Linked DNA regions of Homo sapiens: region 2 is linked to region 1. The links are contacts of gene promoters, found by promoter capture Hi-C in blood cells and fetal thymus (Javierre and others, 2016). All regions are on one chromosome and are shown on one strand. The core of a region is centred on a gene start or on the middle of the fragment in contact, and the rest is flanking DNA. Distances in the headings are between cores, read along the strand shown.

Region 1 (5,409 bases), core at 1,089-3,588:
AGCTTGAGTTCAAATCTTTCAGAACACAGTGCCAGCCTGGGGCTGCGGCTCCTTCCCGCTCCTTTGGCTGGGCTCTGTCAGCTTCCCACAGCTCCTCAGGCTCTGCTGGTCCCAGCGCAGCGTCTGCCGTCTTTCCCTTCTCTTCCAGAAACTTCCTCCCTTCCTGGGAAGAGCTAATACCTCTTCAAATCCCTGGTCCTTAAAGTCACGAGAATCAGTGTGGAACACCTTATGTGGGAAGGAGAAAGAAAAGAAAAAGAACATTACACTATAGCAAAGGACAGCTTGTACTGGGAGAATTTCCCCCCAAGGAAGTTAGGAGTTCATCATATAGCTATAGAGTTTGCTATTTGCCTCCCTTTTTCCGCAAAAATTACTCAGTCCTGCACTGCTCCATCTGGAGGCTCAGCAGGAGCTATCCCCGCCATCCTCCCCACCAGCAACCCTCCTGAGGGATCACCACCGTGGTCACCAGCAATGAGATGTGACCAGCCTGGGATTGGGAAGATGCTGTGCAGAAGCCCTCTGCACTGTTTCCTCAGCAACTGGGGGTGGGTAGGTGTGTCCTCAGCAAGACCCCTTCTTGAATGCCCATTAAGAACCCTGCATTATTTAAGTGGGGTTCAGTTACAAATTCAGTCACAAACTCCCTGCCACACAGCCACCCCTGTATAAAGTGACTGCTTATCATCACAAGACAGCAACAGAAAGACAGCCACACAGGGCAAAGAAATAGGGAGAAACTGATTGCTGAGTGAAGTCCCCCAGACCCCAGATCGTTCTAGCTTCTGAGAAAACAAAACAAAGCTAGGAGGACTCCCTGGGCAGTGGGGCAAGCCTGCCAGACCAAGGCCAAGAGCCAGAGGCCTACCCACTCCTGCCCTTGAGAGTCAACAGTGTTACAAAGAGCTCAGACAGCTGACTCGGATCCAGGCCTCTGTCTCTCCCCGTCTCCCCCTGCTCTTGGCCCTGTGAGCTTGTCAGATAGGACAAGGGAGTTATCTCAGTTAGAAGGGACAGAGCATAAAACGATTGCTTATTACCCACGCATTTCAGTTAATTAGGCTCCTCCTGTTCCCCAGGGTTACTGAGAGTTGGATATAGTGGAATTCTTAGAAACAAAAACAAAAAAACAAAAGTAGCAATAAAAAAAACCCAAAACAAAAACCAAAGCACCGTAAGCCAATATGCACTTGCTCCAAATGCATCTCTTTAGCTGTAATGGCTCCACTTCTCTGCCTAAAGGAATCCCCAGGCTTCCTAATTCCTGATGGACTCCCATCCTATTCCATTTCACCAGAAGAGCTCTTATTCGTAAAAAATAAATTTAAAGAGAGTTCCACCAGGTAAGAGGAACAGGTCCTTAAGTATTCCAAACACACACAATTAGTCAAGTTCAGTTTAGGAAAGGAGGTATCAAACCCCAGGAACTGGCCCAGGAGAACTGTTTCCTCTATCAATTCAGTCACCCACCAGGACTCCCTTTTCCAATCTCCTTAAACACAGTACTGTGGTTCTTTCAAACTCCCTCACCAGAGATCCAGGAGGAAACCTCTGAGTCCAGTGCCCCTATGCCAGAAAAGTTTCTGAGTCCGCTAAAAGCTGACACCCCCGCCTCCCTCCTGTGTTCCTGGCAGGCCACTGAACCTGAGAGGGGGCTCCCAGGAGGGGAAGCCAGTCCTCCCTCACCACTCCCCCTGTAAAGAGACTTCAGACAGGCCTAAGGCCCTGGGACGAAAGAAGCAAAAGTGAACCAGGACGCCCTATCCCCTCCTCCCAGGCGGGGACAAAAAAGACCCATTTTAGTATCCCCAACCCCGAGGAGGGAGAGAAAGTAACTGGGTGGCCTCCTCAGTCTCTCCACCACTCAGATTCAGCAAATGCGCTGCGCGCCAGGACTGCCGCCCTCCACCACCCCCTCCCCGCCCCAGGACCCCACAGGACTGACCTGCCCCTCGCCTGGGAGGAAGGGGGGCGCCTGGCAAGTGGCAGCGTGGCCCGTGGTCTCGGGGGGTGCAGGGCACCCCCTCTTCTCATCACTCCTCCTCGACAGTCCTCCTTGGCCCCCGGCGTGCCCCCCCACACCCCCAGCCAAGGCGAGCGTCCAGCCGCGACACCCGGCTCGCTACATTTCGCTTCTGCGTTACAGCGAGGCCGCCGCTCCGCTTCCACGCGGGGGAGGTGGCCGGGGAGGGCAGGATATATCGCTTCGGGCCCGGCGGGGGGGCACCCGGACGGGGGACCGGGGAGCCGAGCTCACGCGCCCCCAATCGCTTCTTGCCCGCGGACTCGGGCCCAACTGGTTGGCTGCCGGTGGCAAACGTGATCTGGGGCAGACTGGGTGGCACCCCCCCCGCTCCATCAAAAATAGATTCTCGGATGGACAACAGCAGCAGCCAATCAGGGACTGGGGAGGGGGCGGGATCAACCTCGGCCCGGCCCCCTTCCTTCGCTTCGTGCCCAGGAGGCGGGGCGCCGGGGAAACGCAGTAGGAGGAGTGACGGGAACCGGGAGCCGGCTCCATGCGCCTGGAGCGCGCGGGTCCCAGCGCCCATCGGCCCGGGGTCCGAGGGGCCCGCTGCCCGGGCTCGCTGCGTGGTGCTACCGCCCCCGGGCCCGCTGCGCCGCGTCGGAGCCCCAGCAGACTTTGAGAGGCGTGTGCGACAGTGCGCGTCCTCTCCTGCCTCTGGATGTTTCCTTGGAGCCTCTGGCCTTCGGGAAGACCGGTAAACGTCCCTGTGGAGCCAGCCAGCCAGCCACCTCTGACCCCCGGGCTCAAGCAGCCAGCCGCGTGCTCCCTCCTCCCACTTGGTACCCGGACAGAACAGTCCCTACCTTGCTCTTCTCCCGCCGGCTCGTCACTTTAGGCTCCCTCCAGATTCCGCGTTCCTTGAGCAAATGGCTCACCCCTGACGAATCCGGCCTTAAAAAAGTCCCGGCCTTGAAAGGGGTGGAGACTGGCGGGCGGGAGCGAAAGGAGGTCAGACCCATGGCTGGGGTCGCACACGCATCACCTGAGGTCGGAGAGGAGGGGAGCCTCACTTCCTCTGACCCACTGAGCCTGGTGGCAGCGTGCGGAGAGATGTCACCATCCCGGACTAAATGAAATCCAACTTTCCCTGACGCACCTTGTGGGATCAAAGAGGGGTGTTCCCATGCTCACCTTTCGCCACTTCCTCCCTGGGGTATCTCCACCTCTCCAACACAAGCTCAATGCCAGTTCTCTTTGGGATGTTTTTGTGCAGGGGGTGTGACCTCCCTCATAAAGGAACCCCCACTCCCAAGTTTTCCCCTCTTGTCAGTGGAACCTGTGACCAACGGTTCCTTCCTGTCCTTTTCCTCCCTGAAAGTAGCCCGGGGGCATTCGAACATGGCTCTAGACCCCTGAATAGGGTTTGGAGCGGAGATGTGCCTGGGGAGAAGAGATCGCAGTGCTGTGTATGAAGCTTTGGGCACGTGCTCACAAGAGCACACACAGCAACCTGAGCAGGTCATTCCTTTTGATAAGGATGACAAATACACATACCAAACCCTGTTCCCCTCACCCACCCCAAACCAGTACCCCCAGGATGATTCCAGATCAGCTCTGGAGCATTTGCATCAAGGGCCTGCAGACTCACAGGACCTACTAGAGCAAAATATCAGTGTCTCAGACCCCAGTTTTGGCCTCAAATACTGGGTTTTTCTGCCAGGAGAAGTAGCTGCTAGTCTAGGAAATGCTGGGACTTGTCCAGAAAGATGAGGTTTGTGAATACGGGGTGTGGGGTTGGGTGGGGAATTAAGGCTGATGTATCTGGAGGAACTTTGGTTGGGCTGGAGGCAACTTCTGCCCTGTTCTATTCAACAGTTCCCTCCCCTCCACTACCCCATTTAATCTGGCCACAGCTCAGCTACCTGTGTATAAAATCTTGATCTCTCTCCTATTTCCTTTCTACCTTCCGTGTTTTTACTTACTCGAAAACTGTTCCCCTCTCCTGTGTGTATTTTTTTAATTGAAATATACCAGGCATTTAGGAAAGGAACACGAAACCTAAGTGTACAGGTCAACAAATGATGACACAGTGAACACCCCCATATGACCACCATCCAGATCTAGAACGAGATCATTATTGGCATCCCAGATACCCTCCTTCTATCCGCTCCTGGTGACTATGCCACACTCCTTCTCAAAAGTAACGTTTATCTAACACTACAGGTTAGTTTTGCTTACTTCTGAACTTTATATACATGGAACCATTCAGTAGGTATTATTTTGTGTCTGGCTTCTCTCACTCAATACTATGTTTATGAAACTCATCCAAAACATTGTGGTAGCAGTAGCTTATTTGTTTTCATTGCCGTACGGTATGCCATTAAATAAATATACCACAATTTATCTGTTATTCTGTTGACGGACATTTTGGTTGTTCCTACTTTGGGGTTATTATGAATAAGGCTGCGATAACGTTTTTGTTCATGTCCTTTGGTACACTTACGTTCATATTTATACTAGATATATACCTAGGAATAGAATTACTGGGTCATAAAAGGATATGCATATTTTTAGCTTTAGCAAATGCGACTAAACAATTTTTCAAAGTGCTCATATTAATTTACACTCCTGCCAGCAGCGTCTTAGTGTTCCAGTTGCTCTATATTCTCATTAACACTTGATATTGTCAATCTAGAAAAATTAAAAAATTTAGCCATTCTGGTGGGTGTATAGTGGTATTGTAGTTTAAATTTGCTTTATCCTGATAACCAATGAAGTTGACCACCTTTCCATGCATTTATTTGACCCTTGGATATCTGTTCAAGTATCATGTCCATTTTCTATTATTCTATTCCTTCTGTCTTACTACTTTTTTTTTTTTTTTTTGAGATGGTATCTTGCTCTGTTGCCTAGGCTGGAACCTCTTGGGTTCAAGTGATTCTCCTGCCTCAGTCTCCTGAGTAGCTGGGACTACAGGCACATGCCACCATGACAGGCTAATTTTTGTATTTTTGATAGAGACAGCGTTTCACCATGTTGGCCAGGCTGGTCTCTAACTCCTGACCTCAAGTGATCCGCCCGCCTTGGCCTCCCAAAGTGCTGGGATTATAGGTGTGAACCACTGAGCCCAGCCCTGTCTTACCACTTTGTAGGAGTTCTTTATGAATATCAGATACGAGTCCTTTGTTGGTTATAGGTATTGCAAATATTTCTATGAGTAAATAAATACAAAAGCCCTTGGTTTTGGTGTCTTCTGAAGTGTCAGGGCCACTGGAACAAGAATATAATCTCTATATCTATTTTGATCACTAGTGTAAACCCAGCTCCTGGCACATAGTAGGTACTTAATAAATATGTTGAATGAATGATGGATGAGGTGGATAAAGCTGATGTAGGTACTTTGCTCTGTATTGTGCTGATCCCTAGAGTCAAACACC
Region 2 (5,409 bases), core at 1,525-4,024, 200 kb after region 1:
TAAAACCCAATACGGAGGATCCGTTTAGAGCCTTGCCACCTCCCAAGAGAAGGCCTGGCTCTCCTGTCCCCACCACTCCCTTGCGCAGGCAGGCACTCACTTCTCCATCCACGGGGGCTGCCCCAATGGCGTTTTGCAGCTGCTTAATCTTGTCGGAAGGGCCAGTGATGAGGGAAGTCCCTGTGTCCACAATGGCCTGGCAGCCCTCGGAGCAGAACATAACAGTGCCTCCCACCTGGATGCTGAGGGGACAGGGTTGTGGTCGGCCCACCTTCCCTCCCCCGGCTCCTAGGAAACTCCCACTCTTTTTTGGCCTCTCAAATGCCTGGAGCACATCAATGATTTCCACCCACCATATGAGTGTTCCTCAATTGTTTTCTACTGAGATCCATAGGAAGAAATCTGTTTACTTCTTGACCCAGTGCACACACACACACATTCATGCAATTGAAGTGCACTCTGGTATTTTCTACTGTATTCCAATTCGTCTAAAAAATGTAGGTGTCTCAATCTCTTGACCTTGTGATCCACCTGCCTCGGCCTCCCAAAGTCCTGGGATTACAGGTGTGAGCCACCACACCTGGTCAGGTCAGGATCTTCTAAAATGATGTCATGACCCATAAATAGGTGAATTCCTACAGTTTGAAAAACTCTGAATAGACAGTGAGCATTGAGGCCTTTTATTTTTTGCATTCCTAATGCCTGGTACCTTGCAGGAACTCAATCCTAGCTGAATTGAAACTTGAACTACACTTTTCCAATTCCTGCATTGTCTAGCACGGCGCTAGGTATGAGGCAGGCATGTAGTCCCACTTCCCCAATTGCTTCGTGCCCAGATATTGTATATATTTCCTGGCTCAGTTTCAATGTAACCCCCTCCATGATGCACTGGAGCATTCAGATAGAAGCGGTCATGCCTGTCTGCTGGACCACATTGGTGGCACCTCTCTTGGAGCACTGACCACCTTCCATTTTACAGGATAGTGGTTTGGGTGCATCTCATCTTCTGTACAAGTTTTTTGAGGACAAGATCTGAGCCCAATTCACCTGTGCAACCCCCCATGTTACTCATCCCTTGCCTTGTGTGTTAATGTTAAAAGAACAAAGGGGAGCAGGCTGTGCACTGGTATTGACTGTATGTTGAGTTAAAAGCACGCCATGTGTACAAGGAAGGAAGCTGTGTCTGCTGCCCTGGTTACAGAGGTCCCTTCCTGCACACTTGCTCAGCACCTCCATACCTCCAACCACAGTAAGCTTCTGGCATCCTCTGCTAGTGACCAGTGGTTTTTCAGTTAAATCGGTTTGAGTTGTGCCTCTTTTCAGTTTACCCCTAGTACTGTCACTACTTCATGGGGAATACTCACTTATCCAGTGCAATCTGCCAGTAAGCTTGCTTGGTGACTGGGACCCAATTCAGGCTCCCAGAGAAATGGGAGTGGTCGTAGCCTCCAAAAATCAGCTCGCTCCCCGCACCACCTTCTGGGTTACTACATGGAGAGAAAGACAAACTGTCCAGGAAGGGCCACTGCAAAACTCTAGGGGTGAGCCTCAGCTAGGACCCTTTGCTTCTTGGTCTCATGCCAAGCACACAGGTAGGCAGAAACATCAGTCTGGGCTTTGAGACCGGGACTCTGACTACTGCAAGTGAATTGGTCTGGGCCTTTTTGACACAAGGTTAGAAACAACTCCCCTTGACCATTTGTGAATGTGTTTCTGCTTCTTGGATAAAAAGGTTAAGGAGGTGGGAAATGGGGCCAGCAGGTCTGTCATTCAGAACCAAGGCCAGGACCATCCTGGGTGGGTATACACTGTGTGGCTTGAAGCAACCCCCAAAGACACCTTTTCCCAAAGTATCTTCCCCACTATGGTTGTGACAGTGCCTGGCGTTTTTGTGTTATTCACTCCTTATGTTAAGGCAAAGAGGCTAATATGAATGTATCATGACTTACTAGAGCCTGAAAACTTATTTTCATTGGTATTGATTTCTCAGATTATGTTCTGGAACCTAGCAGGACTCTGGAGAAATAGGACCTAAGACAGATTCATTTTGAGGAGGAAAAGGATCAGAAAGATACAAAACTGAAATCAGGGTGGTAAAGAGGGAGAGGAGTGAATACCTGTAGGAATTTTAGGACAGTGGTTTTACAGAGGGAGTGGGGAAAGGAACTCACATTTGTTGATTACCTTGGTGCAAGGCCGTGTAGTGGGGATTTTATCTGTCTAAACTTATTTAACTCACATCAACCTAGTGGTCCGTGGAAGAAACTGAGCCTCAGTGAGATGAAGCAATGTAAGTGGCAGGATTCAAATCCAGGCCAGTCTGACTGCCAAGCCTTGATATTCTCCATTACAGCCCACTTTTCCCAGGCGACGGGAGAAGGAAGTTCTGCAAGGGGAAGCAGAGGTGTCTAGACAACTTGCCTCTCTTACTCACAGCTCTTCCTAGGCCTGGTCCTGAGTGCTGTCATGCTGGAGAGGAAACATAGCTTGATAGGGAAAATCCAGGACCCTCCATGTGGGAGAGGGGAATGAGAGGAATGGGCTTATGCTGAAACAGTGTGAACGCAGGCCAGGTCTGAGCTGGAAAAAGTCAGCAAGGTCAGAAATCACCTTCCTGTGTAAGGAGGAAGAGGAGATGACCCTCCAAGGATGCCGGGCAAGAGTGCCTAGAAACAGGTGAGCCTCATGACCTTTTCCAAAAACAATGTGCAATTTTAAAAATTGTTGTAAAAATATGTCACATAAAATGTACTATCTTACCCATTTTTGAGTCTACAATTCAGTAGTGTTAAGTATGTTCACACTGTTGTAAAATCCAGACCTTTCATTTTACAGAACTGGAACTTTATACCCATTAGGCCATCAACAACGGTTTAAGAATTCCTCACTTCCCCTCCCCAGGCTCTGGCAACTGGCAGTCTACTTTCTGCCTATGAATTTGACTAGTCTAGGTACCTCACCTAAGTGGAATCATACAGTATTTGTCTTTTTGTGACTAGCTTATTTCACTTAGCATTATGTCCTCAAGTTTCTTCTATGTTGTAGCATGTCTCAGAATTTTCTTCCTTTTTAAGGCTGAATAATATTTGATTATTTGGATATGCCACATTTTGTTTATTCATCCATCAGCATGCAATTATTTTATTGTCAGCTTTTCATTTTTTTCTGCCTCCTCCTCCTGCAGGTACTGTCTTTCTTGTTTCACTGGGTCCCCAGTGTGAGCATCATAATCAGCATATAATAGGAGCTTGATATTTAGTGACAGCATCAATGAAGAACCAATCCCAGAGATTCCTTAAATTTAAGCCAGTGTGGTAGAGTTTACAAAGTGTTTTTACAGCTACTTGATGAAGCAAATCCCATTTCCTCAATATTCAGAGAGGTTAAATGTTTTGACTAAGATCACACAGCTGGTAATGGACCAAGCTACCTAAACCAGGTCTTTTGACTGCTAAGTCAAGTGTATGTGTTGTCTCCCTGTAGTTATAACTGACTTTAACCTCACAGACTTGATGGGCCTTACCTGCTCATGTAGACAGAAAACATCGGCAAGTCCACCAGGTTCTGAGCCATCATGTTGTCAAATACTGGAGTCACTCCTCCCACAGCCAAGGAGGGGTATCCCAGGCCCAGAATTCCATCAAACTCTGCATCCACAAAGGTCTGGCCTGGCTCTGTGACACTTTCTCCAAACTGCTGGCCAACCACGGTTAGTCCTTCCACCTGGTAGGAGAAAGCCCACAGGAGAACAGGAGAATGGCACAGGGGATTGCTGGCAAAGGGTTTGACTCCTGGATTTTCCTCTGTCTTGAAGCTAATGCCTCTCCTTCCCAACTTTCCTTGACTAAATGAGCACAAAGATGCTTGCTATATTCCCAAAAAACAGGACATTCCAAACCTCAGAAGCCCTCATGCACCTGCCAATCATTGCGCCCCTCCTCAAGAAGAGCCAGTCTCCTGACTTCTAATAACATATATTGGTTTTGCCTATTTTTTGGATTTTATATAAATGGAATCATCCCATATGAACTCTTTGGTATCTGGCTTCTGTCACTCATCATGTGCTTATTGTACACTGTTTTTTTGTAACTTGTTTCAGAAAATTTTGCCTACCTTAAGGTCATGAAAACATTTTCTCATGTTTTCTTCTAAAAGCTTTATTGTTTACTTTTCACATTGCGATCTGGAACCTATATGAAATGTGATAATGTGTAAGGTAGGAATTAAGATTTATTTTTTTCTATCTGGATATTCATATGACCTGGCACTATTTAATAAATATACCATCATTTCCTCCACATACTGCAGTATCTTGTTCAACGCAAGTCAGATGACTGTGTTGATAGTTTTGTATTTTCTGTTCTGTTACATTTGTTTATTTTTTAAATTCTGTGCCAACACCACACGTCTACATTACTGTAACTTTATAATAAATCTTAATATTTACCAGTGTTTTTCTTCAGCAAGATTGTATTGGTGTATTACATATCCATATAAATGTTAGAATCAGTTTGCTAATGTCTAAGAAAAAATGCTGTTGTTTTGATTGGAATAAAATTGGTTGTATAGACCAATTTGAAAAAATTTGACTTTTTAATGAAACAGAGTCATTCAATCTATGAGCATGGTTTAGTTTTCAATACAGGTCTTCTTTTAATTTTATTCATTAATGTTTGTGATTTTTATGCAAGTCTTTTACTTTTATTTAGTAATGTTTGCTATTATCAGAGTAGAGTTCTCGCACATTTTTTGTTAAATTTACATCAAAGTAGCTGATGGTTTTGATAGTATTATAAATAGTGTCATTAAAAATCTATTTGCCATTTGTTTTACTTGCTACAGGTTGAGCATCACAAATCTGAAAATCTGAAACTGAAGTGCTTCAAAATCCAAAACTTTTTGAGTGCCAACATGAGGCTCAAAGAAAATGCTCATTGGAGCATTACAGATTATGGATTTTCAGATTTGGGATACTAAACTGGTAAGTATAATGCAAATATTTCAAAATCTGAAAAAATTTGAAATCTAAAAGGCTTCCGGTCCCAAGCATTTGGGATAAGGATCCATAACCTGTATATATAAATCCAAATGATTTTTTTTGAGACAGAGTCTCACTCTGTCACTCAGGCTGGAGTGCCATGGCATGATCTTGGCTCACTGCAACCTCCACCTCCTGGGTTCAAGCAGTTCTTCTGCCTCAGCCTCCTGAGTAGCTGGGACTACAGGCGTGTGCCACCACGCCTGGCTAATTTTTGTATTTTTAGTAGAGAAATGTTGGTCAGGCTGGTCTCAAACTCCTGACCTCATGATCCACCTGCCTCGGCCTCCCAAAGTGCTGGGATTACAGGCGTGAGCCACTGTGCCTGGCCCCAGATGATTTTTTTTATGTTGACCTCATATCCAGCAACT

Evidence for each region. The method cuts DNA at HindIII sites, captures the fragments that hold promoters and counts their contacts. A CHiCAGO score of 5 or more calls a contact.
Region 2: a contact is called between a fragment that was not itself captured here and the fragment with the promoter of SLC41A1 in region 1, in 1 of 17 cell types (naive B cells). The highest score is 5.1, in naive B cells.

The regions. Positions count from the first base shown.
Region 1 is chr1:205,810,860-205,816,268 of GRCh38, forward strand. It overlaps SLC41A1 (solute carrier family 41 member 1), which reads right to left and starts at 2,339. Exons shown (of 11, transcript NM_173854.6): 1 at 1,949-2,339; 2 at 1-228. RefSeq lists silencers at 2,070-2,329, 2,470-2,699 and an enhancer at 2,133-2,633. The HindIII fragment of the contact is 5,321 bases long and covers 1-3,444 here.
Region 2 is chr1:206,012,408-206,017,816 of GRCh38, forward strand. CTSE (cathepsin E) reads right to left here. Exons shown (of 9, transcript NM_001910.4): 5 at 3,524-3,723; 6 at 1,365-1,487; 7 at 101-242. Among named protein-coding and RNA genes, the nearest start is that of CTSE, 8.8 kb to the right of the region's middle. RefSeq lists an enhancer at 1-14. The HindIII fragment of the contact is 2,766 bases long and covers 1,392-4,157 here.